4 separate regions of the Homo sapiens genome follow, and regions 2, 3 and 4 are each linked to region 1. Evidence: promoter capture Hi-C in human tissues and cell types (Jung and others, 2019). All regions are on one chromosome and are shown on one strand. The core of a region is centred on a gene start or on the middle of the fragment in contact, and the rest is flanking DNA. Distances in the headings are between cores, read along the strand shown. Region 1 holds the start of GMIP (GEM interacting protein). Region 2 holds the start of ZNF93 (zinc finger protein 93). Region 3 has its middle 52 kb from the start of ZNF93. Region 4 has its middle 6.0 kb from the start of ZNF90.

Region 1 (5,614 bases), core at 585-3,084:
CTGGCGCTCCTGGCCGACCGCGTCCTGCAGTTCTTCCTGGGGACCCCGAAGCTGAAAGTGCCTTCCTGAGATGGCAGTGCTGGTACCCACTGCCCACCCTGGCTGCCGCTGGGCGGGAACCCCAACAGGGCCCCGGGAGGGAACCCTGCCCCCAACCCCCCACAGCAAGGCTGTACAGTCTCGCCCTTGGAAGACTGAGCTGGGACCCCCACAGCCATCCGCTGGCTTGGCCAGCAGAACCAGCCCCAAGCCAGCACCTTTGGTAAATAAAGCAGCATCTGAGATTTTAAAAAGCCCTGCCTCCACCTCGTCTGTGCCACACGGTGTTTGCTGGGGGCTCGGGGACAGAGGGTCACTGAGGAAGGTCCCAGCACCCTCCCCACAGGCGTGTGATGTTGGTGAAACCCTCTGGCACTTTCAGCACTTGAACATGGACTTGTCCCTGCCCAGAGAATTCAGTGCATATTTTCTAGTTTAACAAGCACCCCCATATTTCTGAGGTCTCTTTCACATTTTAACAACTCAGGTGCTGAGAGAAGCCTTAGGATGTGTGATATTTTTTTCTTTCCCATAATACATAACAGCATGCCTTTCTCTCGGGTGGTGTCTGAGACTTGAGGAATATGATCTGCATCATTACAAGTATTGACTCTGTCCGGTGGCTCAAGCCTGTAATCCCAGCACTTTGGGAGGCCAAGGCGGGCCCATCACAAGGTCAGGAGATCGAGACCATCCTGGCTAACACAGTGAAACCCCATCTCTACTAAAAATACAAAAAATTAGCCAGGCATGGTGGCGAGTGCCTGTAGTCCCAGTTACTCGGGAGGCTGAGGCAGGAGAATGGCGTGAACCCAGGAGGTGGAGCTTGCAGTGAGCCGAGATAACGCCACTGCACTCCAGCCTGGGCAACAGAGCGAGACTCCAACTCAAAAGAAAAACAAACAAGTACTGACTCTGTCATGCTCTTTGGGGGCCTGCGCTGCTCTACCATCTCATGTCACAGTCAGGGAGCTCTGGCTGAGCATCAGCCAGGATGTGACCTGGAAACCTGGCTTGGCTCTTAGGTTGATAGTGTTATTCCTTTCAATGGACTCACTCATCACAACTCAAGAACTGCAGAGTAGGCAGCACGGAGCCAGTCAGAGAATCCTTGCCTCCTTAACAGCCAAAGCCTTTGGACACAAAGTTATAAACATACTTTAAAGTCTATTTCCAGCCCCAAAATTCCACTGTGCTGGGGGTGGGAGCATTTTTATAACAGGCGGCTTGTGGCAACCCCAGAGCTGGTGCTTTTGGACAAACCTCCACTCCCTACCTAAAAGGGCTGCTCCCTGGTGTGCTGTAATTGGGGCCTTGAGCCTGATCCAGCTTTGAGGGTCACGGAAGGGGCGTCCCCCAGGCCAGGGGTTCTCCAGCCCGAGTATTAGAATTTTGGTTGGAATCGGACAGAATATCAGGCCTCCACCAGGGGGCGCCATGGCTCCAGCGAGGCCCAGGTGGTTTCAGGGCTCCGAGAGACAACCTGGGCAAGGGGATCACCAGGGTCGCGGGTTGTGGGAGCTCCTGGGAGAGGCCCCCCGGGACAGGTGGACTCTGCAACCATTCAGGGAGGAGGGGGCTGGGGCTCCGTGGGATTTGGGGTAGCACAAAGATCTGAGAGGGAACCTATGGCCCAGATGAAGTCTTAGGATGCCCAGGTCAGGGGCACTGCAGCCTCGAGTGGTCGCTCAGGGGGCCCTGGCCCGACCCAGTTTCAAGCGGCTCAGGTAGAGAAGGGCACTATCAAGGCTTCCGGGCTACGGGGGCGTGGTCTGATGCGGGGGCGTGGCCTCCGCTGGGCAGGGCGACGCGGAACCGAGGCGGCGGCGGCGGCTGCGGCGGCAGGAAATCGGGGCTCGGCCCCGCCGGCGCGCGACCCCATCCCCATCCCGGTCCCTGCAGAGCGATCCCCGGGCCCAGATATGGACGCAGCAGAGCCGGGTAGGGGGTCGGGGATCCGGGAGGGGCCTCCCCCGACCATCCCCTGCTTCCTACATTGAGGGCACACACTTGTCCCGCTCCGTCCTGAGAGCCAGGAGAGGAGTTCCTGAATGGGAAGGACCCAGGGATCCTCCATTGTGGGGAGCCCTGTGCCCGGATGGGTTCAGGACCCCAGCCCTTCACTCCCCCTCCCCCTTTTGATCCCTCACCCCAGACGCCTGGGGGAGGGGGCCCAGGAAGGGGAAGTGACTGCTTCTGCTTCTGATTTTTGTGATGGGGGCAGGGTGCCACGACTGCTGAGGGAGAGGGCAACGCGGTAGGATCCCCACAGGGCCCCTCTGTAGCCCTGGGGAGTCGGCAGTGCTGGTCTAGGCCCCTTAGGAGAGGGGGCAGGGGGGCAGCAGTAGAAATGTGGCGGGGTCCGACTTGGTGTTTCCGGCCGTCTTTGTGTCTGTGTTGTGTATGTGGAGTGTCATTCGGTCTTTATGTCCCTCACGGCTTCAGTCTCTCCATGTGTGTTTCTGCCCCAGGCTCTGCCTGGCTGTCCCTTGTGTATTTCCATCTGTCTAGCCCGTGGTTCCATTGTCAGACCGGCTTTCTTCTCGGGACAGCCTGGTTGCATCTGGGGCATCTGTTTTGTTGGTTTGCTTCTGGGTGCAGGCAGACCCAGGGAGTGGGTGTCTCTGTTCCCCGAGCAGCTGTCTCTGGTCTCTGGTGGTGTGTGAGTCCATCTGCCTGCCTCGAGTTGGCCCCAACCAAGCCCCCCCCAGCCCTCTCTTTCTCTCTCTCACTCTTCCCTTTCTCTTCCACCCCCTCCAAATGAGACTGGTTGAGGTGCCGTGGGTGGAGGGAGGCAGTGGTTAGCCCATGTATTACACTCCCCTCCCCTAGGACTCCCCCCAGGTCCTGAGGGCAGGAAGAGGTACAGTGACATCTTCCGGAGCCTGGACAACCTCGAAATCTCACTGGGGAACGTGTGAGTCTGAGCCTGGATCACCCCCAAATCCTGCCAAGATGCCCCAAGCCCCTAACCATTTAGGTGCCTTGCAGTCCCATTTGGAACCTGTAACATCTGGACCTACATACCTAATAACCAGAGAAGTCTAGGATGGGACCCTCCAAAATGCCTCGGTATCCTAAAAGTGTCCCCCTAAATAGACTGGAAATCCCCAAAGTGGTCCTAGAACCCCTACATATCCTTGTAACCCCTTAAAATATTTGCGATCCCTATAATCCCACTCTATGAACCTCAAAGTTATCTGGGGCCCTTCAGATGCTTTTTCAAGTCCTATTTAAAAAAAACTCACCTGATTCCCCCAAAACACCATTCTTCAGACCTCCCAGACACAAGAGATGCCACAGAGGTGATGTTTGCCACAAACAACCCTAAGGTCCCCAGCACCCCTTGGCAGGACAGACTGGGTGTAAGGTGGCATCCTGACACACCTTTATCCCCCAGGACCCTTGAGATGCTGGCTGGAGACCCTCTACTCTCAGAAGACCCAGAACCTGACAAGACCCCTACAGCCACTGTTGTGAGTGGGGAGTAGGGGAACAGGGAGGAAGACCTCAAGCAGAGGGGGCCTTAGGAAGGCCAGGCCCCTGCCCTGTTTGCTTCTGAATACTGTCTCCCTCCCGCACAGACCAACGAAGCCAGCTGTTGGAGCGGCCCCTCCCCAGAGGGTCCTGTACCCCTCACAGGTAGGGGGGTCTGGAGGCCAGGACAGTGGGGACAGACAGGAGTCTTTCCTTCAACAAATCACCACTGATCCCCTGTTCCATGCAAGGCATCGTTTAGGTTTTGGGAATATGGCAGTACACACAACAGATCTCAGTCCCAGCCCTCAGGGAGACCCCAGGCAGGGTGGAGGCTGAGGTAGGAGGATCACTTGAAGCCAGGAATTCGTGACCATGCTGGGCAACAGTAAGACACCATCCCTACCAAAAGAAAAAATATTTTTTTAATTAGCTGGGTGTGGTGGTGTGTGCCTGTAGTCCCAGCTACTTTGGAAGCTGAGGCTGGAGGACTGATTAAGCCCAGGACTTTGAGGCTGCAGTGAGATACGATTGTGCCACTGCACTCCAGCCTGGATGACAGAGCAAGACCATGTCCAAAAAAATCAAACACAAGGCCGGACGCAGTGGCTCACGCCTGTAATCCCAGCACTTTGGAGGCTGAGGCGGGTGGACCACGAGGTCAGGAGATCGAGACCATCCTGGCTAACATGGTGAAACCCCATCTCTACTAAAAATACAAAAAAATTTAGCCGGGCGCAGTGGCGAGTGCCTGTAGTCCCAGATACTCGGGAGGCTGAGGCAGGAGAATGGCGGGAACCCAGGAGGCGGAGCTTGCAGTGAGGCAAAATAGGGCCATTGCACTCCAGCCTGAGCGACAGAGCGAGACTCCGCCTCAAAAATAAAAATAAAAAAACCCATCAAACACAGGCCGGGCACGGTGGCTCATGCCTGTAATCCCAGCACTTTGGGAGGCCGAGGCGGGCAGATCACCTGAGATTGGGAGTTCGAGACCAGCCTGACCAACATAGAGAAACCTCGTCTCTACTAAAAATACAAAAAATTAGCCGGGCATGGTGGCGCATGCCTGTAATCCCAGCTACTCAGGAGGCTGAGGCAGGAGAATCGCTTGAACCCGGGAGGCAGAGGTTTTGGTGAGCCAAAATCGCGCCATTGCACTCTAGCCTGGGCAACAAGAGCGAAACACAGTCTCAAAAATAAATAAATAAATAATAAAATAATAAAAAATAAAAAACAAAAAACAGTGAATCTGTAAAATTGCAACCAGGACAAGTGATCCCAAAGTAGTGTTTGGGGAGCTGTGAGGCTGTAGGACAGGTGCCACTGGGCTGGTCTGGGGGCTTAGGGAAGACATCCATAGCAGACTAGGGTGCAAAGGTCAGAGGTCCATCCATCTTCCCCAGGGGAGGAACTGGACTTGCGGCTCATTCGGACAAAGGGGGGTGTGGACGCAGCCCTGGAATATGCCAAGACCTGGAGCCGCTATGCCAAGGAACTGCTTGCCTGGACTGAAAAGAGAGCCAGCTATGGTGAGGACCTCTTCCGCCCAGCCCCAGTTACCAGGCAGTCCCCAGACCCCAGCTAGACCCAGAGCCCGGCTCTCTCTTCCCCCAGAGCTGGAGTTTGCTAAGAGCACCATGAAGATCGCTGAAGCTGGCAAGGTGTCCATTCAACAGCAGGTAGTCATGACCAGACCCCCCCGGAGAGCCCAAGCCCCCTAGAACCCCACCTTTGTCCCCCACAGATCTTCAGTATCCTCCTACACCACTCTGTCTTCCCCAGAGCCACATGCCTCTGCAGTACATCTACACCCTGTTTCTGGAGCACGATCTCAGCCTGGGAACCCTGGCCATGGAGACAGTGGCCCAGCAGAAAAGAGACTACTACCAGGTGAGGGGGGCAGGGTGGAATGTTACAGAGGTCACCCTGCTATCCTGCTGTCCTTCAGGCCTGATCCCCTCGTTTCCCAGCAAGCTGGGAGGAAGGCACCACTACCAACGTCGCCATTTCATTGATGAGGAAGCTGAGGCCCGGGGATGCTTGGGAACTTGCCCAAGGTTACCCAGCAAAGATTCAAGCTGGGCTTCCTGTGCAATTG
Region 2 (5,639 bases), core at 1,975-4,474, 260 kb before region 1:
CCAGACACACACTCTGCACATTTTCTCCTATTTCTCATTCAAAAAAAAAAAAATCAGCTGTATTTGTCTTCGGTGGTCAAAATAAAATATTTCTTTTTTTTTTTTTTTTTCCAGCCAGAATCTCGCTCTGTTGCCCAGGCTGGAGTGCAGCGGCGCAATCTCGGTTCACTGCAACCTCTGCCTGCAGGGTTCAAGCAATTCTCCTGCCTCAGCCTCCCAAGTTTCTAGGATTACAAGCGCCCGCCTAGTTTTTGTATTTGTAGTACACACAGGGTTCCACCACGTTGGCCAGGCTGGTCTTGAACTCCTAACCTCAGGTGATCCGCCTGCCTCTGCCTCCCACAGTGCTCGGATTACAGGTGTGAGCCACCGCGCCTGGCCTGAAATATTTTTTTCTGTTTGTTTGTTTTCAGAGTCTTGCTCTGTCGCCAAGCTGGAGTGCTGTGGCTTGATCTGGCTCACTGCAACCTCTGCTTCTCGGGTTCTAGCGATTCTCCTGCCTCAGCCTCCTGAGTAGCTGGGAATACAGGTGGGCGCCAACATGCTGAGTTAATTTTTGTATTTTTAGTAACGATGGAGTTTCACCACGTTGGCCAGGATGGTCTCGATCTCCTGACCTCGTGACCTGTCCGCCTTGGCCTCCCAAAGTGCTGGGATTACCAGCACTGGTAATCCCAGTGCTGGCCTCCCAAAGGCATAAGCCACCGGGCCAGGCCTAAAATAAAATATTTCCTAATCAAACTTTACTTAGGTTTATCTCCCTTCCTCAGGCTCCTGAACTTTGAGCTACCCTCACTCTGAGTCAACATACAGCCCCACTTTACATCCCTCCTAAGAACATGCTGATTTCAGGGTAAGACATTCTCTGATGTAAAATCTGACTTTTTCACCCTCCATTTGCCATTCCCCTCCCACCTCCTTTCTAATCTTGTTTGCTCCTCCCTAGGGAGAAAAGCCCTTTTCTGCCTACATTTTTGCAAGCCATAAAGATTTTAGAGTTAGTTGGTACTTCCTCCTGTTGTAATACTTTTTTGAAATTCATCTTTTACATAAATTAACGTTTTTATTTTACAAAGTCTAAAATGTTCCTCAAAACAATAACAACTTCATCGTCAGTAAGATCCTCCCAAAGGCCGGGCGCGGTGGCTCACGCCTGTAATCCCAGCACTTTGGGAGGCCGAGGCGGGTGGACCATGAGGTCATGAGATCGAGACCATCCTGGCTCACACGGTGAAACCCCGTCTCTATTAAAAAAATTTTTTTTAATTAGCCGGGCGTGGTGGTGGGTGCCTGTAGTCCCAGCTACTCGGGAGGCTCAGGCAGGAGAATGGCGTGAACCCGGGAGGCGGAGCTTGCAGTGAGTCGAGATCGCACCACTGCACTCCAGCCTGGGCGACAGAGCGAGACTCCATCTCAAAAAAAAAAAAAAAAGATCCTCCCAGTTTCCTTTCATCTTAACCTTAACTGCATCTGCTTGTGGGGCCCCAGCTTTCTGGGGCTCTGTACCTTCTCTCAGAATAACGCCTCCTTCCATGGCTCCGGTGAATAGGCTGGGACATCTGCAGGGGAGGCTCCCCAGAAAAAGCTAAATAGGACTTTATAAACTCCTGTTGGCTGGGCCCTGTGGCTCATGCCTGTAATCCCAGCACTTCAGGAGGCCAAGGCAGGCAGATCACCAGAGGCCGGGAGCTCGAGACCAGCCTGACCAACATGGAGAAAACCCGTCTCTACTAAAAACACAAAATCAGCCAAGCATGATGGTGCATGCCTGTAATCCCAGCTACTTGAGAGGCTGAGGCAGGAGAATCGCTTGAACCCAGGAGGTGGAGATTTCAGTGAGCCATGATTGCGCCACTGTACTCCACCTGGGCAACAAGAGCAAAACGCAAAACTCTGTCCAAAAAAAAAACCTTCTGTTTTAGGCTTAATATTAGCCTTAGCTTGGAGTCACTAGGCTCAAGCTTTGTCATGTCAGAGTTATTCACTTGGTTTTTGAAACTCAGTGTTTGAAAAATCCGTGAAATTACTCAAACACAGTATTTACATAAGGGAAGGAAATTTTAAGATGTCTATTTTTTTTTTAAGACGGAGTCTCACTTTGTCACCAAGGCTGGAGTACAATGGCAAGCTCTCGGCTCACTGCACCTCGCCTCCCAGGTTCAAGCAATTCTCGTGCGTCAGCCTCCCAAGTAGCTGGGATTACAGACGCCTGCCACCAATCCCGGCTAATTTTTGTATTTTTAGTAGAGACGGGGTTTCACTATGTTGGCCAGGCTGGCCTAGAACTCCTGACCTTGTGATCCACCCGCCACGGCCTCACAAAGTGCTGGGATTACAGGCATCAGCCACCGCGCTGGGCCAGGAAGGGGATTTAACCCTAACGCAGTTCCGGTTTTTGTGTCCTTCCCATATTGGCTGAGGTCCCACCGCACAATCTAAGCTGATCCTGGTTGGGCTAGACACAAACTTTTTCCATATAGGGTAAACGCGCGATGTTTTGAGAAAAGGAGAATGGGGAAAAAGAAGGGGTAGGGTTGATTTACAATTTTTACAACTTATGACCAGGAAGTTGAGTCTCTGAAGAGGAACTTAGCTGCCCTAACAACTCCTCAAGTGATCCGCCCGCCTCGGCCTCCCAAACTGCTGCGATTACAGGAGTGAGCCACCTTGCCCAGCCCCATAAATTTTTAATAGGAGAAAAGAGAAACTGTGAACCCAACCCACTAAAGCTCTTCCCATTCGTGAACCCGCACTCCGAGTCAGGATTCTCCCCTGACGACTCTCCCGTGGTCTCTGCACAATCTGGGAGAGAAGCGGCTCTGCGGGTGCGCAGCTGCCCAGCGAGGGCTCCAAGCCAGGGCACAGTCACCGCACAGTGAAGAGACAGGACGCCTGGGGGCTGCGCTATAAGCGCAGCCGCCATCTTATGGCTGAAGGGAACCGAGGCCGAGCTGGGCAAGAACTCCGGCGCAGATTGTGGAGCTGACTAAGGGGATACCTGAGTCCCGCCACCGTCACTTTCCACCGGTTCCAACCAGCCCCTCCCCGTCGCTTGGGATGTCGGACCGGCACTCTCACCATTTCTAGGCTTCCAGGGGTCCTGGTGTCTTAGCTGTGGATCTCCCAATACCTGCAGGTCACAGGGCCACAGAGGCTGGGCCTGTAGGAGCACAGGACACAGAGTAGTGAAGAGGAGACCTGGAGCTCCGGCTGCACCGAGAGACAAAGGACCCGCCAAACCAGAAGCCGCCCTGTTCGGTCCGGCTGCTTGCCTGATTGGACGTTTCCAGCCCAGCGTCCCTGATTGGATAATTCTTAAGGTCCCGCCCCCTCAGGACCTGAGTGACAGAAGATGTGATCACATGCTGGGCTGAGTGAAGAAGAGTAACAGCCTAAGCTGCAGCCTTTTCAGCCAGGGCTTCCTCTCTGAGCTGAGCCACGTCCACCCCAGAGCATGGGAACATTCTCTTTTTTACTCTCTCTTTTTGAATGTATTGAAAAGGTGAACAGAAGTATTTCGTTGTCATATTAATAATACCGTTGGAAGTAAAGTGTTTGGTGTCGCAAAGTGAAACCAGTACTCAGGCAAAAGTTTTTTTAGTAAGGCAATTTACTTCTGCAAAAGGTTTTTGTTTGCATTAATCACGATCGCAAGAGCACCCTGAACAAAGGAGGGAAGGGGTTTTTATTTTTAACGTAAAGTCTCTTCCTCTGTGTTACTCCCCCATGGGCTAGGGTCGGACCCCACAATCTAAACTGACCCGATTGGCTATTTGTAAATATTTTTCCAAATAAGGAAGGGAAGGGGCATGTATAAGTCACAGTGGTGGGACGTGTGGTTTTGAAGGGTGGGAAGGCTGCAGAGTGAGTAATCAAGGGAACAGATGTGAATTATTGATTAGAGCTGTTGGGAAGGAAGGTTGTTACAGTAACTAGGGGCAAGGAGGCATGGAGAACAAGCAAGTTGAGTTTGAGAACAAAGAACAAGAAAGTTAAGACTAAACCTTTGAAGAGGAATTTTATTGTATTTTACAATTTCCCCCTTTTAATTTTTATAATTAAAAAAAAACCTTTTTTTTTGAGATGGAGTTTTTGCTCTTGCTGCCTAGGCTGGAGTGCAATGGCACGATTTTGGCTCACTACAACATTTGCCTCCCAGGTTCAAGCAATTCTCCTGCCTCAGCCTCCCGAGTAGCTGGGAGTACAGGCATGTGCCACCACGACCAGCTAATTTTGTGTCTTTAGTATAGATGGGGCTTCTTCATATTGGTCAGGCTGGTCTCTAACTTCTGACCTCGGGTGATCCGCCCGCATCAGCCTCTCAAAGTGCTGGGATTACAGGCGTGAGCCACTGCGACCACACGCTTTTTAAAACTTTTTAAACATACCTTTACTTTGTTGTTTGACTTGATCTTTTAAAAGGAAAAGTTTATCTGAATAAGGTGGAGGAGAACTAAGGGAGGTTTTCGTAAGTGTCGTTTTTATAAGTCTTTGTACTAGCCCACAGATGCATGGTATGACACAACACCCAACAAGAATTAGTACACCTATTACAACTATAAGAGAAGTAAGAATTGAGGCTATGACTTTTTTTCGTTTACTGAACCACCTCTCTAGCCATTCTGAAAACGTGTTATTGACCCCAGAATTTTTAGCTAATTCATTGGATAAAGTGGTAAGTTCGTGTAAGGCCCTTCTTATGTTCCTATTGGGGGCAGTATTGTTTGGGATGAAGGTACAACATTTGAGTTTTAATCATAACACAAACTCCACCTTTTTCAGCTAATATTATGTCCAGGGCCATTTTGTTTTTCTAAGTTATCTGGCTAGTAGGCCTTAATTGGTTGGCTATTTCTTTGACAGCATTTCTGGTGTAATTAATAAACTAATATTGATTATAATAGATGTGATTTATCTATCTAATCTACATTTTTATTAATAGTTACCCGTGGAAATATTGATTTAAATCCTGCAGCTATTTGATCTTGGGCTTTGAATTCATCAGGTACCACCCGTGGGACTCCAGTTGTGTCTAAATAAACTTGAAAGTCAAAAGACACATAAGGGGCTTCTCTTATTTTACAGTGTTGTGGTTTTTCTTTTTCTAGTCGATGAAATGCCAGAGTGAAAGGGATAGCCAACTGGACAACAGTGCAAGTGCCGTTCCAGTTACTTGGCAGAGTGTCCAGTAAGGGTCCACCACAATACCACCATATATTTGCTCAAAGATGAACAAGGGAAGACTGACTGGTAAGATCTTGGAAAGGCTTAAGCTCACTGTATCCCATTAAGTCTCCAAGAAATGCCAAGTTTTCCCCTTGTCGTGAGAGACACGAGGTAAAATTGACGCTAGGAGATGGAGGCTGGATGGCTCTTGGGGCCTGACCCACAGGGTGTTGGACTTTAAGAAATAGCAGAGAGAGAGCTCAGCAGGATTTATTACCCTAGGCTGTGGGGTCTTGGAAAAGAGCTACTATACAGTTTATGCCTGGTCAACTAGAAGACCATCTGAGTGGGAAAGGGACAATTTGGGCCTCTGGCTGGCCGCGTGCACAAGCATAACAATTGCTTTTGCTTAATGTGTGCACAGAATATTTGATCCATTTTAACCAGGCATTTGTATCTTGGTATCTTGTTTT
Region 3 (5,727 bases), core at 2,275-4,774, 310 kb before region 1:
AGAATAGAATGTATGGTCGGTTTTACACCAAGTCATTCCATTCCCAGAGGCATGCAGGAGACAGATGCCTTCCTCTTAACCGCATAGAGGCCTTCCTCTTCACTAATCCTCCTCAGCACAGACCCTTTACTGGTGTTGGGCTTGGGGGCTGTAAGGTCTTTCCCTTCCCATGAGGCCATATCTCAGGCTATCTCAGTCAGTGGAAACCTGTGTAATACCCAGGCTTTCTTGGGCAGGGGTCCCTGCGGCCTTCCGCAGTGCATTGTGTCTCTGGTTAATAGAGAATGGAGAATGGCGATGACTTTCACCAAGCATTCTGCGTGCAATCACATTTTTAACAAAGCACATCCTGCACAGCCCTAGATCCATTAAACCTTGAGTCTACACAGCACATGTTTTTGTGAGCACAGGGTAGGGACGAAAGTTACAGATTAACAGCATCTCAAGGCAGAACAATTTTTCTTACTAGAGATCAAAATGGAGTTTATTTTGTCTTCCTTTTTCTACATAGTCACAGTAACGATCTGATCTCTCTTCCTTTTCCCCACACCTGGGTGTCCTGCCTCTTCCCTGTGCAGCGACTGTGCCCTGGCCTGGAGCCCTGTCTGGGCAGCTCTGCGCCTGCAGTGTGGCGTCTCTCCCAGATTGTGCAGGGACCACGGGAGGGTGGTCAGGGGAGAATCCTGACTCGGGGTGCGGGTCCATGAATGGGAAGAGCTTTGGACCATGGGGTTGACAGTTTCTCTTTTCTCCTATTAAAAATTTATGGGGCGAGCCTAGGTGGCTTACGCCTGTAATCCCAGCATTTTGGGAGGCCAAGGTGGGTGGATCACTTGAGGTAAGGAGTTGTTGGGACAACGAAGTTCCTCTTCAAAGACAACTTCCTGGTCATAAGTTGTAAAAGCTGTAAATCAACCCTATCCCTTCTTCTTTCCCCTTCTCCTTTTCTCGCAAAATCACGAGTTTACCCTATTTGGAAAAAGTTTAAGGGTAAGCCAACCGGGATTGTGCGTCGGATCCCCGGAGGCTCACGCCTGTAATCTCAGCACTCTGAGAGGCTGAGGCGAGTGGATCATGAGTTCAGGAGTTGTAGACCAGCCTGGTCAACATGGTGAAACTGAGTCTCTACTAAAAATACAAAAATTAGCTGGATATGGTGGCAAGCACCTGTAATCCCAGCTACTTAAGAGGCTGAGGCACAACAATTGCTTGAACCCAGGAAACTTAGGTTGCAGTGAGCTGAGATCATGCCATTGCACTTCAGCCCAGTCAACAGAGCAAGACTCCATCTCAAAAAAAAAAAAAAAGTAAGCATCTTAAAATTTCCTTCCCTTATATAAACACTGTGTTTGAGTAATTTCACTGGAATTTTCAAACACTTACTTTCAAAAACAAAGTGAATAACTCTGACATGGAAATTAAAGCTTGAACCTAGTGATTCCAAGCTAAGGCTAATATTAAGCCTGCAACAGAGGGTTGTTTGTTTTGTTTTGTTTTTTGTTTTTGGTGTGTGTGTGTGTGTGTGTGTGTGTGTGTGTGTGTCTGTGCACCCAGGCTGGAGTGCAATGGTGTGATCTGGCTCACCACAGCCTCTGCCTCCCAGGTTAAAGCAATTCTCCTACTTCAACCTCTGGAGTAGCTGGAATTACAGGCATGCACCATCACGCCCGGCTAATTTTGTGTTTTTAGTAGAGACGGGATTTGTCCATGTTGGTCAGGCTGGTCTCGAACTCCCGACCTTAGGTGATCCGCCCACCTCGACCTCCCAAAGTGCTGTGATTACAGGCATGAGCCACCGAGCCCGGCCAACAGAAGGTTATTAAAGGCCCAGTTACTTTTTTCTGGGGAGTCTCCACTGCAGATGTCCCAGCCTGCTCACCCCAGCCATGGAAGGATCCTTTATTCTGAGAGAAGCTACAGAGCCCTGGAAAGCTGGGGCCCCACAGGCAGATGCAGTTAAGATTAAGGTGAAAGGAAACTGGGAGGTTCTTACTGATGATGAAGTTGTTACTGTTTTGAGGCATTTTTTAGACTGTGTAAAATAAAAATGTTAGATTTATGTAAAAAAAATTCCAAAAAATTATTGCAACAGGAGGAAGTACCAACTAACTATAAGGAAGGTCTTTGTGGCTTGCAAAGATGTAGGCTGAAAAGGGCTTTCTTTCCTAGGGAGGAGCAAACAAGATTAGAAAGTAGGTGGGAGGGGAATGGCAAATGGAGGGTGAAAAAGTCAGATTTTAGATCAGAGAATGTGTTACCCTGAAATCAGCATGCTCTTAGGAGGGACATAAAATGGGGTTGTATGTTGACTCAGACTGAGGGTAGCTCAAAGTTCAGGAGCCTAAGGGAGGGATATAAGCTTAAATTTGATTAAGAAATATTTTATTTTAGGCCAAGTGAGGTGGCTCATGCCTGTAATCCCAGCACTTTGGGAGGCCAAGGCAGGCGGATCACCTGAGGTCAGGAGTTCGAGACCAGCCTGGCCAATATGGTGAAACCTTGTGTCTACTAAAAACACAAAAATTAGCCAGGTGTCACAGTGGGCACCTGTAATCCCAGATGCTCGGGAGGCTGAGGAAGGAGAATTGGTTGAACCCAGGAGGCAGCCATTGCAGTGAGCCGAGATCAAGCCACTGTACTCCAGCCTAGGCAACAAAGCGAGACTCCATTAAAAAAAAATAATAATTTTGATCACTGAAGACAAATTCAGCTGATTTTTCTAATGAGAAAAAGGAGAAAATCTGCAGAGTGTGTGTCTGGCTGTGTGATAGGTAAAACAGAGGACTATCTAAGTCATAATGGGAAGAGTGTTTCTTTCCATAAACTGTTCCTGGAGCACACAAAGGATGGAGAATTTTATTAATCACAAATATTTTCCAGGATTATCTATGTGTTTCATCTTCCCCCATCTCTTTTCTTTGTTCTATGCATTTCTTCCACTTGGCTTTTCCTGGGCTGCATCTTATATATTAAAACAGTAAACATAACTACAGTGTTTTCCTGAGTTCTGCGAGTAGCTCTACCAAATTATTGAACTTCAGGGAGGCGATGGGAGTCCCCAGTTTTTAAATAGTGGCTCCGAAGCATAGATGGGCCTGTGGGGTTTGTGGCTGGCATCTGCAGTGAGGACAGTGTTGTGGGACCGAGCCCTGAATCAGGGTCTGTGCTGACTCTGGGTGGTGTCAGAATTCAAATGTTAGACAATGAGTTGGTGTTGGAGGATAGTTTGATGTTCAGCAAACTACAGATTTGGTGCCAGAAAAAAAGATATTATGGAGGCCTGGCCTGGAGTAAAACTCTGGGTTTCTGGAAATGGGAGGCTCTGCTCTCCTGTACACAGGCTGTCACACTGCCCATTTTCCTGTGATTCCAGGTCTTCTCCCAGGGTGACAGAAGACTGAAAACTTAGAGAAAAGGACCTCTAAGAACAGACACCCCTGTCTTGCATCTGCCACCACAGGATTTCCACCCACTCACAAACACACACACACTAGACATTGATGTGTCCACACTCCTCCCAGGACTAGGCACCACCCTCAGGAACTTCACCACTGCATTTTTGATCCTAGTGTTTCTTGCCAAGAACCCACAAGTGTCTACAAGTCTTCTGGCATATCCCCACCCTCAGACACTGAATCTGCAGCAGCAACTTGTTTTCTCCACCAACCTAAGCTTCTGGGCCACCTGTTCATGATCTCATCTGCCTGCATTCACACAGAAATAAATCAGTACAGCCCCACCTGGGCCACTATCTGTAGTGAAAATCAGTCCTTTCAGCTACATTGCACTCTGCCATCCAGGGATATTTTTTCTTTTAGCTTTTATTTTTGGTTCGGGATATACATGTGTCTTTGTTTTACAGCTAAAATTATGTCATGGGGGTTTGGTGTGCAGATTATTTTGTCACTGAGGTACTACCCGTAGCACCAAACAGGTCTGTTTTCTCATCCTCTTAGTCCTCCCACCCTCCACCCTCATCTAGGCCTCAGTGTCTGTTGTTCTTCTCTTTGTGTTCATGTGTTCTTATTATTTAGCTATTACTTATAAATAATAACATGCATTTGGTTTTCTGTTTCTGTATTAGTTTTCTCTTTTTTTGTTGTTTTTTGTTTTGTTTTTTGAGATGGAGTTTTACTCTTTTTGCCCAGACTGGAGTGCAATGGTGCAATCTTGGCTCACTGCAACCTTCGTCTCCCAGGTTCAAGCGATTCTCCTGCCTCAGCCTCCCTAGTAGCTGGGATTAGAGGTGCATGCCACCATGCCCTGCTAATTTTGTATTTTTAGTAGTGATGGGCTTTTTCCATGTTGGTCAGGCTGGTCTCAAACTCCCGACTGCAGGTGATTTGCCCACCTCCCTCCCAAAGCGCTGGGATTACAGGCACAAGCCACCATGCCCAGGCTCTCCGTTAGTTTTCTAAGAATAGTGGTCTCCAGGTTCACTGATGTTTTTGCAAAGGACATGATCACTTTTTTTAATGGCCACAGAGTATTCCACGATGTTTATGTACCATATTTTGTTTTTACTAAATCTTTTATTTTATTTTATTTTTGGAGACAGGGTCACACTTATGGCCCAGGCTAGAGTGTCATAGCATGATATTGGCTTACTTTAGCCTCAACCTCCCAGGCTCAAGCAATTGTCTCCTACCTCATCCTCCTAAGTACTTGGTGTGGGGGGACTACACATGTGCTTTACCACACCTGGCCAATTTCTATTTTTGTATTTTGCATGGAGACAGGATTTTGCCCTGTTGCCCAGGCTGGTCTCAAACTTCTAAGCTCAGGCAATCCACCTGCCTCAGCCTCCCAGAGTGCTGGGATTACAGGCATGAGCCACCGCGTCTGACCATACCGTGTTTCCTTTATCCATTGATAGGCATTTAGGGCCTGTCCATGTCTTTGCTATTGTGAATAGGGAATCAACTGTATTGTTCTTTTTGAGTGGGTATGTATTGTAGCTGGAACAGGGAGTTCCTGGTTTGAAAGGACAATGTTAATGTTGGGAGTAAGGCAGACTAGGGCGCAAGTGCCTGTCCAGTTAGTAAGGAGACAGAAGTATGTTGTGGACCCGCAGAGAAAGAAGATGCCTGAGGTATTTATGCAAACAGACAGGTGGATTGAGAGTAGGTGTTGCAGTTTGTAGGTTCCCCACTTGGAGGGACTTGGCTCAGCTTCAGCAACCCAGAGTGAGAAAGAGACAGAAACCCCTTTGAGCACTCCTGTCCAAGGAAGGGGTTTCCATGTTTGAGAGGTGGGAGGGAGGAAATGCAGAAGGGCTGAGTAAAGAGACCGTTGACTTCAGGGGAGACTGAATAATCCACTCAGAGTGAGATATGGGAGGAAGGGTGAGAGATGGTTCGGGTTGAGTTACAGGCAGAGGGAAGGAGGGTGCCTACGTGTACGTGTCCATTGGAAGAGGTGATGCATAAGGGGGCTTGGCCAAGTCTTGTGGTATGGAGAGTTATGAGACCTTGGATGGTGGGGTATGGGAGTTTTGAGTCATCATAGTTGGCAATATAGATTGAAGAGGAGCTTGGTAGCTCTGTCAGTGAGGGCAGTGGGATAGTTTCCAGTGAGAGTGAGGGCTCTGTCTACAAAGGCAGGTCCCTTTTGGATGTTGTAAGAGAAGTGAATGGGAAAATGGTCTCAGGGCTAAGAAATTGGGATAGCTGAGTAGGCAGTAGAGGAAAGGCAAAAATAGGTCCAGAAACTGGAAGCAAATGTTGA
Region 4 (4,941 bases), core at 592-3,091, 430 kb before region 1:
ACCGCTGCAATAGAAGCCAATCACAGACAATGTTTTCTATACGTCGAGTTGCCAAAGGCCGCCAGGAATGGGCTACCTTGGAGAATCATCCTGACAACATTTCTGAATGGCTATGTAGTTACCAACGGGGTCACAACAACACTTGTAGTCCAACCTGTACTTCCTTTGACCACACTAAGCAATCTATCTTTGCCCAAGTCAGACAAAAGGTGAACTCCACATTCTCCTTTCATCAAAAGCCTTGGTATCCTGCCCAATATTCCTGGAATGGTATATTTTGGAAACCAGCTGTGCTGGTGCCTGGATTCCCTATAGCCCCCGCTTAGTCTGGAGGCCTTAAAAGGTTCCTCTAATATTACTCTGGGGTTTCTCCAGACAATTGTCAACACATACTCCAAATCAACATTGCCCCCAGTGAACCACAATCTCTTTCCTACTTTAATAATACATGAGTACACTGTGATTACAGTAGCTCCATTGCTGTCCCCTGGGGGAGCCCTCTGGGTATGCAGATCCTATGAGTGGTGATACCTGTCCCCACACTGGACAGGGAGATGAACTTGGGGATAGCCATTAATTCCATTCACCATCCGGGTTAATATTCCTCTCCCAAGTAATTTAGATACTTACAAACATCACTGGTTATGAATGTGCCAGCCTCCCTGGCCTCCCTGGTGGCAGTACCCTATCACAGTATTCTCCCCTGCCACTGGTACAATCCTGCTTCAGCAACAAACTAAAATATTAAGGTTATATGTAGAAAAAGCTCTTAATGATATTAGCACTAGACTTATGTTGTTACCAGATAAATTTGCTCAGCTGAGTACTGTTGTGTTGCAAAATCAAATGGCATTAGATATGCTTACCGCAGCCCAAGGAGGGATTTGTGCCATATTGCATGCTAAATGTGGTGTGTATATCCCTGGCAATTCTCACAATATGACTCTCCTTAGAAAGCCATGCTGGGTGTGGTTTTTATTAATTGTGCTTTTAATTCTCCTGTCCTTACCCTGTATCTGTAATCTATATCGACTATGCCTTCCCTATGTATCTGTAAGGGTATTTTCCTACAATTGAGTATCCAATTGAGGCCAAAGGTGGAGAAAAAGTTAAATTTGAATTGAATTGAATGTGGACACAAACGATGGTCACCAAGCCTGAGAATAGGTTCTGCGAGCCCCTTGATGCATTCATCTAGAGTTGTTTCAGAGAAATCTCGATTTCAATCTATTCCTTTATATTGTTATTGAAAAACAATAGCCAATTGCAAAAACAAGTTAACTTTTTGTGTTCCTTGAGCCCAGTCTCAAGGGCCCTCCACTGTGCCTCATGCCAAACAACTTGTTACAAAATGACCTAGAGCCCCAGAACGCACTAAAGCTTAAAGAGACCTCTCCTTGTCCTTGCATGGATGGGTGGCTGACTCTGGAGCCCAGGTTGTTGCATTCCGGTGTGGCGATGAATCCTCCATAGTCTGGTGAGTGTATATATATGTACATATATTTATGTGTGTATGTATATATATATTTATATGTGTGTATATATATATATTTATGTGTGTGTGTGTGTATATATATATATCTTTTTCCTTCTCCCCTTTCCATTGCAATTTTCTTATATCAATTTACTTGGCCGGGCGCGGTGGCTCACGCTTGTAATCCCAGCACTTTGGGAGGCCAACGCGGTCGGATCAGGAGGTCAGGAGATCGAGACCACGGTGAAACCCCGTCTCTACTAAAAATACAAAAAATCAGCCGGGCATGGTGGCACGTGCCTGTGGTCCCAGCTACTCAGAACGTTGAGGCAGGAGAATGGCGTGAACCCGGGAGGTGGAGCTTGCAGTGAGCCGAGATCGCGCCACTGCACTCCAGCCTGGGTGACAGAGTGAGACTCCGTCTCAAAAAAAAAAAAAAAATTTACTTATATCTGCATTGCCATTTATGTGGGATAAAGCTTGTTTACCCTTAAAGGTATTGTGTAGGTGTCTTTTCTTCTACCCTCATGTGTTTCCTTCACAGAACACCATATTTGTCAGAGGCTTTCTTTGTTCCTTTTTATTCTTTTTTCTTTAATCTTGTCTGCATGCCTTATTTTGACAAGGTGGTCTTCAAATACTGATATTCTTTCTTCTGCTTGGTCAGTTCGGCTACTGATACTTTTGTATGCTTCATGAAGTTCTCGTGCTGTGTTTTTCAGCTCCATCAGATCATTTATGTTCCTCTCCAAACTTGTTATTATAGTTAGCAGTTCCTCTAACCTTTTTTTTTTTTTTTTTTTTTGAGACGGAGTCTTGCTCTTTCGCCCAGTCTGGAGTGCAGTGGCGTGATCTCAGCTCACTGCAAGCTCCGCCTCCCGGGTTCACGCCATTCTCCTGCCTCTGCCTCCCGAGTAGCTGGGACTACAGGCTCCCGCCACCATGCCTGGCTAATTTTTTTTGTATTTTTTAGTAGTGACGGGGTTTCACCTTGTTAGCCAGGATGGTCTCCATCTCCTGACCTCGTGATCCGCCCGCCTCGGCCTCCCGGAGTGCTGGGATTACAGGCGTGAGCCACCGCGCCCGGCTCCTCTAACCTTTTATCAAGGTTCTTAGCTTCTTTATATTGGGTTAGAACATGTTCCTTTGGCTCAGCAGAGTTTTTTTATTACCCATCTTCTGAAGCCTACTTCTGTCAATTCCTGCATCTCATCCTCTGTCCAGTTCTGTACCCTTGCTGAAGAAACATTTTGATCATTTGGAGAAGAGGCACTCTAGCCTCTCAATGTTTTTTTGTTGATTCTTTCTCATCTTCATGAGTTTGTCTAGTTTTGATCTTTGAGGCTGCTGACCCTTGGATTTTTTTGTTTTGTTTTGTTTTGTTTGAGACAGAGTCTTGCTCTGTCACCCAGGCTGGAGTGCAGTGGCAGGATCTTGGCTCCCTGCAACTTCCGCCTCCAAGGTTCAAGTGATTCTCATGTCTCAGACTCCCAAGTAGCTGGGACAACAGGCGTGCACCACCACGCCTGGCTAATTTTTGTATTTTTTTTAGTAGAGACCAGGTTTCACCACGTTGGCCAGGCTGGTCTCAAACTCTTGACCTCAAGTGCTCTGCCCGCCTCAACCTCCCAAAGTATTTGGATTATGGTGTGAGCCACCATGTGCAGCCTTGGGTGGGATTTTTCTGGGTATATTTTTTTCTTGTTGATGCTGTTGTTGCTGCTTTCTGTTTGTTTGTTTTTCATTCAGTGGTCAGGTCCCTCTTCTGTAGGGTTGCTGCACCTTGCTAGGGGTTCACCTCAGGCCCTATTCATCTGGTTCACTCCAGTGCCTGGAGAGGTCACTCAAGGAGGCTGCAGAGCAGTAAAGAAGAGTGTCTGCACCTTCCTCTGGGATCTCTGACCTCAAGAGGCACCAACCTGAAGCCAGTAGGATCACTCCTGTATAGGGTGCCTGACAACCCCTGTTGAGGGGTCTCATCCAGTGCATGGGGAGAAGAACCCTTTTAATGAAGCACTTTGACTGTCGTTTGGTGGAGGAGGAGTGTTTTGCTGGGGGCAAATACACTCATCTGAGCTGCTGGAAATGCTCAGAACTAGCAGGAGGAAAGGCTAAGTCTGCTTGTCCACAGAGACTGCAGCCACCCCTCCCCCTAGGGTTCTGCTCTGATATTTGTTATTTCTTTTCTTATGCTGGGTTTGGGTTTGGCTTGTTCTTGTTTCTCTAGTTCCTTGAAGTGTTATTTTAGATTGTCTACTTATGCTCTTTCAGACTTTTTGATGTAGGCACTTGATGCTATGAACTTTCCTTTTAACGCCACTTTTGGTGTATCCCAGACATTTTGATAGATTGTGTCATTATTATCATTCAGCTCAATTAATTTTTAAATTTCCATCTTGATTTCATACAAAAAAATTCAGAAACAGGTTGATCCTAAATTTTATTTTTCATTTAATTTCCGTGTATTTGCATGGTTGTGAGGGTGCATTTGAAGTTGATTTTCACTTTTATTCCATTGTTGTCTGAGAGAGTAGTTGATATAATTTTGATTGTCTTAAATGTATTGAGACTTGTTTTGTGGCCTATCATATGTCTATCTTGGAGAATGTTTCATGTTCTGAGGAATAAAATGTATATTCTGTAGTTGTTGGGTAGAATGTTCTGTAAATATTTTTCAAGTCCATTTGTTCTAGGCTATAGCTTAAGTCTATTGTTTTTTTGTTGTTGTTGTTGACTTTCTGTCTTGATGACTTGTCTAGTGCTGTCAGTAGAGTATTGAAGTTCCCCATTATCATTGTATTGACATTGATCTCATTTCTTAGGTCTAGTAGTAATTGTTTAATAAATTGGGAGCTCCAGTGTTAGGTCCACATATATTTAGAATTGTGATAGTTTCCTGTCCCTTTATCATTATATAATGTCCCTCTTTGTCTTTCTTTTAACCGTTTTTGTTTCAATATCTGTTTTGTCTGATGTAAGAATGGCGACTACTGCTTGCTCTTAAGGTACATTTGCATGATTATCTTTTTCCAACCCTTTGCCTTAAGTTTATGTGAGTCTTTATGTGTTGGGTGAGTCTCTTTTTTTTTTTTTTTTTTTGAGACGGAGTCTCGCTCTGTCGCCCAGGCGGGACTGCGGACTGCAGTGGCGCAATCTCGGCTCACTGCAAGCTCCGCTTCCCGGGTTCACGCCATTCTCCTGCCTCAGCCTCCCGAGTAGCTGGGACTACAGGCGCCCGCCACCGCGCCCGGCTAATTTTTTTTGTATTTTTAGTAGAGACGGGGTTTCACCTTGTTAGCCAGGATGGTCTCGATCTCCTGACCTCATGATCCACCCGCCTCGGCCTCCCAAAGTGCTGGGATTACAGGCGTGAGCCACCGCGCCCGGCCGAGTCTCTTGATGATAGCAGATATTTGGTTGGTAAATTCTTATCCATTCTACCATTCTGTATCTTTTAAGTGGCACAT

The links. Contacts are between HindIII fragments. The study calls those that stand out against the background at their distance.
Region 2: the fragment with the promoter of ZNF93 here is called in contact with the fragment with the promoter of GMIP in region 1 in 5 of the 25 tissues and cell types used here (adrenal gland, bladder, heart left ventricle and 2 more).
Region 3: a fragment that was not itself captured here is called in contact with the fragment with the promoter of GMIP in region 1 in 1 of the 25 tissues and cell types used here (spleen).
Region 4: a contact is called between a fragment that was not itself captured here and the fragment with the promoter of GMIP in region 1, in 1 of the 25 tissues and cell types used here (heart left ventricle).

The regions. Positions count from the first base shown.
Region 1 is chr19:19,639,877-19,645,490 of GRCh38, reverse strand. GMIP (GEM interacting protein) reads left to right here and starts at 1,834. Exons shown (of 21, transcript NM_016573.4): 1 at 1,834-1,980; 2 at 2,872-2,956; 3 at 3,440-3,515; 4 at 3,624-3,681; 5 at 4,920-5,045; 6 at 5,131-5,195; 7 at 5,299-5,406. The coding sequence starts at 1,962. ATP13A1 (ATPase 13A1) reads left to right here. Exons shown (of 26, transcript NM_020410.3): 26 at 1-293. The coding sequence ends at 69. RefSeq lists a silencer at 1,741-1,990 and enhancers at 2,621-2,780, 2,002-2,957. The HindIII fragment of the contact is 23,421 bases long and covers 1-3,941 here.
Region 2 is chr19:19,898,531-19,904,169 of GRCh38, reverse strand. ZNF93 (zinc finger protein 93) reads right to left here and starts at 3,224. Exons shown (of 4, transcript NM_031218.4): 1 at 3,079-3,224. The coding sequence starts at 3,081. RefSeq lists enhancers at 1,473-2,022, 2,571-3,120, 2,655-3,254. The HindIII fragment of the contact is 8,115 bases long and covers 1-5,639 here.
Region 3 is chr19:19,950,325-19,956,051 of GRCh38, reverse strand. It overlaps the pseudogene BNIP3P12. Among named protein-coding and RNA genes, the nearest start is that of ZNF93, 52 kb to the right of the region's middle. The HindIII fragment of the contact is 3,264 bases long and covers 1,893-5,156 here.
Region 4 is chr19:20,069,555-20,074,495 of GRCh38, reverse strand. No RefSeq gene overlaps it. Among named protein-coding and RNA genes, the nearest start is that of ZNF90, 6.0 kb to the left of the region's middle. The HindIII fragment of the contact is 3,905 bases long and covers 1-3,793 here.